2 separate regions of the Homo sapiens genome follow, and region 1 is linked to region 2. The links are contacts of gene promoters, found by promoter capture Hi-C in human tissues and cell types (Jung and others, 2019). All regions are on one chromosome and are shown on one strand. Each heading gives the region's core, a stretch centred on a gene start or on the middle of the fragment in contact. The rest is flanking DNA. Distances are from core to core; before and after follow the strand shown. Region 1 overlaps MMP24-AS1-EDEM2 (MMP24-AS1-EDEM2 readthrough). Region 2 holds the start of PROCR (protein C receptor).

Region 1 (3,803 bases), core at 1-2,500, 39 kb before region 2:
GGGGCAAAAGGGGACTTCACCAATGTCACTGAGTACCCTTTTTTGTATCCTTTGACTTTTTTTTTTTTAATTGTTCAGTCTCTGTAGAGACTGTGAAAAATTGGCAATGCCGGCCAGGCGCGGTGGCTCATGCCTATAATCCCAGCACGTTGGGAGGCTGAGGGGGGCAAAATCACTGGAGGTCAGAAGTCCGAGACCAACTTGGCCAACATGGTAAAACCCTGTCTCTAATAAAAACACAAAAATTAGCCAGGCATGGTGGTGTGTGCCTATAATCCCAGCTACTCAGGAGGCAGAGGCATGAGAATCACTTGAACCCAAGAGGGGGAGGTTGCAGTGAGCCGAGATCGTGCCACTGCACTCCAGCCTGGGCGACAGGGGGAGACTCTGTCTCAAAAAAATAAACAAAGATACGTATTTTTCTATTTTATTGTATTTATTTTATTTTTTGTATTTTTAGTAGAGACATGGTTTCTCCCTGTTGGTCAGGCTGGTCTCGAACTCCCGACCTCAGGTGATACGCCTGCCTTGGCCTCCCAAAGTGCTGGGATTACAGGCGTGAGCCACTGCGCCCAGCCAAATATATGTATTTTTCATATGGCTTAGACCCTCATGGAAGCTGGTAACTTCATCTGGTACTCAAAGAAATAGCTAACTGTTCCGCGTTGGTTTGTGTCCCCCCAGGAGCACAACCTCATTCTGCCTGAAAGTAGTTGATTTGGAAGGTAAGTCCTTGTAAACACCAGTAGAGGAGGGGGAAGTGAGGCAGGGCAAGGGAGGCGGCATTTAAGGGGTATGCCATCAGGCAGGTTTCCACCATGGGAACTGGAGTTCAATCTTGCTGGGGAGCTTAGGAATTCAGTGTAGAGCTCCAGCTTCGGAGTGATCCCACCCAAGGGGCAGGGAACTGGAATGTTTATCCACCAACTCCCATCAGTATCAGTTACCGGCTTGAGAGCTACTCATGGGTAGCATTAAATCCTGGTACCCTCAGCCAAAGGCAAGCAGAGTGGCTCCAGGCACCAGAGGAGACCCACAGGCAAAGAGGCGCAGGTGATGGCAGTTGGAAGACTGGCCAGTGTGCATGGAAATGTTAAGAGTTGAGAGGATATGGGCATGGCACCAACAGAGTCTACTACGGTCCCACTGCTGGAGCAAAACCTGCCTGAGATGGACTAAGGGATTTACTACAGGTCTCCAGCGGGGCACCTTTTTTTTTTTTTTGAGATGGAGTTTCGCTCTTGTTGCCCAGGCTGGAATGCAATGGCGCGATCTCGGCTCATCCCAACCTCCACCTCCCAGGTTCAGGCAATTCTCCTGCCTCAGCCTCCCAAGTAGCTGGGATTACAGGCATGCACCACCACGCCCGGCTAATTTTGTATTTTTTAGTAGAGATGGGGTTTCTCCATGTTGGTCAGGCTGGTCTCGAACTCCCAATCTCAGGTGATCCGCCCGCCTCAGTCTCCCAAAGTGCTGGAATTACAGGCGTGAGCCACCGCACCCAGCCTTAGGGGGGCACCTTCTTAAGGGATTTTCGGGGAGTCCTCACACAAGCTTTACTTTTCAAGCTGGATTAGCACCAGACTGCATAAAATGTGCCTAGACCTAAATGCAGTCTTCCTAAGTCAGAGTGACTCAGCAAAGTTGGTATTAATATATTAACGTTACTGCTGAAGTAACTGAGGACCAGAGAGGTTGAGTGACTTGCTCAGGGTCACACAGTTTCGATGTAGCAAGGCCAGGGCTTGAATCCAGTTCTGACTAAATCCAGTGTTATGTCCTGGATGGCTTTGGCTCAATTACTGTTAATCTTATTGATTATCCCATTTAGAAGCTGAAACTGACCTTAGAGATCATCTGGTCCAAAGTGTGTTCAATTTCCATGGGTTAATAGTACTGGAAGATAAAGGGAAGCTCTGGTGTTAAATAAGTTTGGGAAATGTTAAATTAAACAAAGTTGAATAGATTTCTTTACTAGAGGATTTTTATTCTGCTCATGTGCATTCTGACTCTCCAAAAAAGGGGGGGATATTATATCTAATATTCCCCTAACTTAATTGGCCAAGACTCATTTTTTCATGCAACTGCCACTCAGTATCTCTCAGAACCGGTGTCCTAAGAAACACAGCAAATACAGATAGACGCTAAAAATGAAGGCCGGACGAGCTGATGATCTGAAGCCGTCAAGTGAGTCAGGGGCATGAAACATACGACCCTCTTCCTAGAAATCAGAGAATCTCAACTGGTCAAAGCTGAATGCAGCCCCTGCTGCCTGCCAGAAACGTGCTTTCCCACTCTCCTCCCCACTCCAAGCCAAACTTGAATTGGAGGCTTGGTCTATTTTTGGTGTCCTGAGCCCAAATCCTGGACCACTCCCAAGGTCACCCTAAGTTTTCCTTGGCTTGACTGCAACTTATTGCTCAGAGCCCTGGGCCTCGTAAGCAGGGACTCAAACAGGAAGGGCAGCAGCGAACCTACCAGCCCGATATCTGACCGGCTCTCCCAGAGGCGCATCAAAGCCACTCTGGCCACATCTTCGAACACCGGGTCACCAGTGAGGCTGCTCAGGGTGGCAAATTCAACAATGAAGGTCCCAATCCCTGCCGTACAGGTGACAGGGGTCTCTCCTGGGTTCACGCCATGAAGTAAGTTCACTGTTCCATATGGCATGCCAGTGGGGGTCTGAAAGGCTGAACAATCGACAAATTATGATCCCGGACAGGAGCAGGGGGATAGGGATAGTTCTGATACACGCCCAAAGCCTGGGACCTTAGCCAGCACTTCCCTCTTTCTCCTGGGTATCCTGCTAGAGTCTGAGCCAGAGAAAGATAAATGTCATAACTGGAGGGCCCTGAGCAGCCACCCAGCCCAGATGCTGTCAAACACTGCTCTGCATAACCTTGGGTTCCTGCTCATCATGAGGGGGCAGGGAGCAGGCTGTGCTCCACACACACTCGCTTTAGCTAGAGAGCTTTACCTATTTTTATTTATTTTACACTACGCCTTCAAAGCCCAGGCAGGTAACTTATTGTGATGCAGGCAGGGTTTAAGCCACAGAAAGTGGTGGGGCTTGTGGCACAATGACAAGAGTAAGCCCCGTTCAAAGCCATTCATAGACTTTTGGCTCACGCCTATAATCCCAGCACTCTGGGTGGCCAAGGCAGGCAGATCACTTGAGGCCAGGAGTTCGAGACCAGCCTGGCCAACATGGTGAAACCCTATTTCTACTAAAAATACAAAAATTAGGCAAGCGTGGTGGTGCACGCCTGTAATTCTGGCTATCTGGGAGACTGAGGCACGAGAATCGTTTGAACCCAAGAGGCGTGGGCTGCAGTGAGCTGAGATTGCACCACTGCACTCCAGCCTGGGTGACAGAGCGAGACCCTGTCTCAAAATAATAATAATAATAAACAAAGCCATTCATAGACTTTAAATAAAGATCTCTGCTTTAAATAAAGAGTATAGGGGCTAAATTATTTTTAAAGGGAAGCAAAATAGGATATAAACCACTAAACCACGGATATAGTATGACCCTCGATTTATAGGTAGGGAAAACCATGCCTGTAAAGAAGTAATTCAGCCACAGGTCACACAGAGAGAGTCAAACAGAGCTGGGATGGGAACGCCTCCCCTGTGCCCACCCCAGCCCCAGTCCAGTTCTCTGCCCGCCCCACCCAAGTGGCACCCAAGTGCCTTCTGGTTCAAGACGAGAACTGGACAACCAGCCAGAGGCAGAGATTTCCTCTCTGGGCCTAAAGGTCAAACAACTCCAGAGCAGCCTATGCGTCACCAAACTGTGAACA
Region 2 (3,790 bases), core at 278-2,777:
ACACACTGAAAGTTAATTTTGGCCAGGTGCAGTGGCTCCTGCCTATACCAGAGGATTGCTTGAGTGCAGGAGTTCAAGACCAGCCTGGGCAACATAGCGAGACCACATCTCTAGTAAAAATAAAAAAAAATAGCTAGGCGTGGTGGCACAGTGGCACGTACCTTTAGTCTCAGCTACTCGGGTGGTTGAGGTGGGAGAATCACTTGAGCCCGGGAGGTCAAGCCTACAATTAGCTGTGATTGCTTCACTGCACTATAGCCTGGGCAACAGAGCTAGACCCTGTCTCAAAAAAATAATAATAAATTTTATATATATATATGAGGATGAAATTACATATGTATTATTTGAACAGAAGTGAAATCTTTTCTTTTTTTTTTTCAGACAGAATCTTGCCGCATGACCCAGGCTAGAATGCAGTGGTGTGATCTCGGCCCTCTGCAACCTCCACCTCCCAGGTTCAAGCGATTCTCATGCCTCGGTCTCCCAAGTAGCTGGGATTACAGGCATGCACCACCATGCCCAGCTAATTTTTGTATTTTTCGTAGAGACGTTCGCCATATTGGCCAGGCTGGTCTCAAACTCCTGGCCTCAAGTGATCTGCCCACCTCGGCCTCCCAAAGTGCCAGCAGCATGCTCGGAGGAGTGACTTTAAAGCTTTTCTACTTGCTTCCTAGAGTAAGGGACGCATTTTACACTGCTATCCAAAACTCATCATAGAAACATACACACACAAAACCAAAGCACACATATACAACTGAGCAAATATTTCATGACATAACACTTTCTCTTACTAAGGGTGACGCGCTGAAATTTTGTATTCTGTCCTATTTCATTTTTTAAAAATGGTAACCATGACCTGCTAAATTGATTTCATTGTCCACTAATAAATTATGACCTCAGTTTCAAAAAGATTGCTTTAGGTAACCAATCATCTTCTGAGATTTATACAGATTGCTCATAATTCTCTCCTATTTTTTAAAAACATGCTGCAGTGAACTGCTTTACACTCATTTTATGACTACTTCTGAGACCAAGATCCCGGATTATGTAATTGTTATTTACTTAAAATTCTGGTAAAATGTAGCCATTATACTGGAAAACTAAATTTTAATCTTGGATCTGTCACCACCATGATATATAAACTTTGGGCAAGTCCCTGCACCTCTCTGGACCTCAATCTCCCCATCAGCAACCTGCTGATCCTACTCCCAGGAGTGTGCTCTAAGTTGAAAGTAGATGCCCCACCCCCTGAGTCAGCGCCGGCAGGACTTCTCACCAAGCCCTTCTCCCCCTTTTCCGCTCCCTGTTCCTGGTTCCTAGGAAGCAGCCCAAGGAGAAGGGAAAAGGCAGGTCTGGGCAGGAGGGAGCAATGAAGGGCGGGGCAGAGGGAGGGCAGGAGGGAGGCCGGCCCCCTAGTAGGAAATGAGACACAGTAGAAATAACACTTTATAAGCCTCTTCCTCCTCCCATCTCCTGGCCTCCTTCCATCCTCCTCTGCCCAGACTCCGCCCCTCCCAGACGGTCCTCACTTCTCTTTTCCCTAGACTGCAGCCAGCGGAGCCCGCAGCCGGCCCGAGCCAGGAACCCAGGTCCGGAGCCTCAACTTCAGGATGTTGACAACATTGCTGCCGATACTGCTGCTGTCTGGCTGGGCCTTTTGTAGCCAAGACGCCTCAGATGGTGAGTCGGGGGCACATCTCCTGCCTCAGGATGGTTCTGGAGAATCTCAGTCTATCTGGGCACATGGCAAGACCACAGGAGAGCTTATCTCACAGCATCTGTGTCTGCAGCTGGCTAGATCTCTCTACAGGGCAGGCAGAGTCTTGGGGACTGGTTCGTGTCCCAAAGCCAAGGTGAGTTAGTACATTTAAGCCCCTGAAAAGGGGGAGATGAAAGAGGCTAGGGGAAACAGGATGACTGGAAACATGAGAAAGAAACCAGCAGAGAGGGTAGGAGAATCAGCCCCAGGGAGAGGGGAGAAAGGGGAACTGAGGGTGATGGTAGATAGGGGTACATCTAGGGGAGACGGGAAGAGGCTCAGAAGAGAAGAGAAATGGAGGGAATGGGAAGACCCTGGGAAAACTGATGGAAGAAGTGGGGGAAGAGTGGGGCAGAGAGAGGTTAGGGGAGGCTAGGGAAAATGGAAGGAGACTGGTCGCAGCTGGTGGAACTGGGGAGAAAGAGATGCTGTGCCTAATAGAACTTATGGGCGATCAGGCTACTGAAGTGGCCCTGTTTAAGCAGAAAAGGGAGTTATTACCCTCCATTATAATTGCACAGGGGCCTCCTTTCCCCTCTCTCACAATCCCCGTAACTTCAGTCTCCCCCTCAGAGAGGCAGCAAATAATAACCAGTATTCAATGAGTGCTCACTATGGTTAATACATGTATTGACCCATTTAACTTGCACAAACCCCTAAAGGTGGGTAATATTATTACTATCTCCATTTTATGAGGAGGAAACTGGGTCACAGAGTAGTTAAGGACCATGTCTAGGGTTATCCATAAATATACTTATTCACATCTGCAGATACAAAGCACAACTTCTCAAATGCAAACACAGACAGGACCCACTCACACACACAGATTTACAACCCCGGACTCATCCAAATGTGCTCTGGGCATCAACTCTGTGCCAGCCTCTTTTCTGGGTGTAGGAAGCAGAGATTACCAAGCATGGTTCCATAGCCTAGAGGAGTCCAGTGTGGCCTGTGTGTGTTTGGAGACAGCCAGGTAGTATCCCGTGAGATACACACTAATATATGGTGGTCTGGGATCACTGAAACAGACACACTGTGTCTCGTGGGGCATCAGAAAAAAATTTCCAAGAAGAGGGCAACTGAGCTGGGTCTTTTTTTCTTTGCTTTTCTTTCTTTTTTCTTTTTTTTTTTTTTTTTTTTTTTTGAGATGGAGTCTTGTGCTGTCACCCAGGCTGGAATGCAGTGGCACAATTTCAGCTAACTGTAACCTCCAACTCCCAGGTTCAGGCGATTCTCCTGCCTCAGCCTCCTGAGTAGCTGGGACTACAGGCATGTACCACCACGCCTGGCTAATATTTGTATTTTTAGTACAGATGGGGTTTCGCCATGTTGGCCAGGCTGGTCTTGAATCCCTGACCTCAAGTGATCCGCCCGCCTCGGCCTCCCAAAGTACTGGGATTACAGGCATGAGCCACCGCGCCCAGTCTCTGAGCTGGGTCTTAAATCATGAATAAACTTCGCCAGGCAGAAAAAGGGAGGCAGAGCAATCCTGACATGCTATTCATGTGTCAGCCAAAGGCAGCATGAGGAATCCCAACTAGTTTGATATATAAGCAGCGGGAAGCGGCCAGAAAAGGCAGCAGGGGCCAGGTCTCTAGCAGCCTTGAATGCCAGGCTAAAGACTCTGGACTTGATCCTGTGGGGAGGCAGTGTAGCAGAATGGCTGAGTGCTGGACTTGACTGCCTACGTGCAAACCTTGGCTCTGCTACACTATCTCTGTCTCAGTTTCCCATGTAGACTGGGGTTAATAATAGTAGCTATTGCATTAAGCCACTGGGGAAAGGCACAAAGATAATAATGTATGTAAAGCCCATTGCCCAGGTTATAATAAGCACTGAATCGACATTGGCTATGATTATTTTTGATTAATGAAGGGGAGGGGGTTATGGCACTGGAAGATTTTAAGTAGGAAAAGGACATGATCTCATCCCTGGGTCAGGTGGAGGTCGGAATAGAGAACGGGGAGATGAAGTAGAAAGTTACTACCCCAGTCTAGATGAGACGGATGAATCCTGAATCAGGGCAGTGGA

Evidence for each region. The method cuts DNA at HindIII sites, captures the fragments that hold promoters and counts their contacts. A contact is called where the count stands out against the background at its distance.
Region 1: a contact is called between a fragment that was not itself captured here and the fragment with the promoter of PROCR in region 2, in 1 of the 25 tissues and cell types used here (aorta).

Annotation. Positions count from the first base shown.
Region 1 is chr20:35,132,260-35,136,062 of GRCh38, forward strand. MMP24-AS1-EDEM2 (MMP24-AS1-EDEM2 readthrough) reads right to left here. Exons shown (of 15, transcript NM_001355008.2): 10 at 2,479-2,690. EDEM2 (ER degradation enhancing alpha-mannosidase like protein 2) reads right to left here. Exons shown (of 11, transcript NM_018217.3): 6 at 2,479-2,690. Among named protein-coding and RNA genes, the nearest start is that of EDEM2, 13 kb to the right of the region's middle. RefSeq lists an enhancer at 1,113-2,312. The HindIII fragment of the contact is 9,994 bases long and covers 1-3,803 here.
Region 2 is chr20:35,170,545-35,174,334 of GRCh38, forward strand. PROCR (protein C receptor) reads left to right here and starts at 1,528. Exons shown (of 4, transcript NM_006404.5): 1 at 1,528-1,680. The coding sequence starts at 1,611. All of the region lies in intron 4 of MMP24-AS1-EDEM2 (MMP24-AS1-EDEM2 readthrough), which reads right to left. RefSeq lists an enhancer at 3,641-3,790. The HindIII fragment of the contact is 10,554 bases long and covers 1-3,790 here.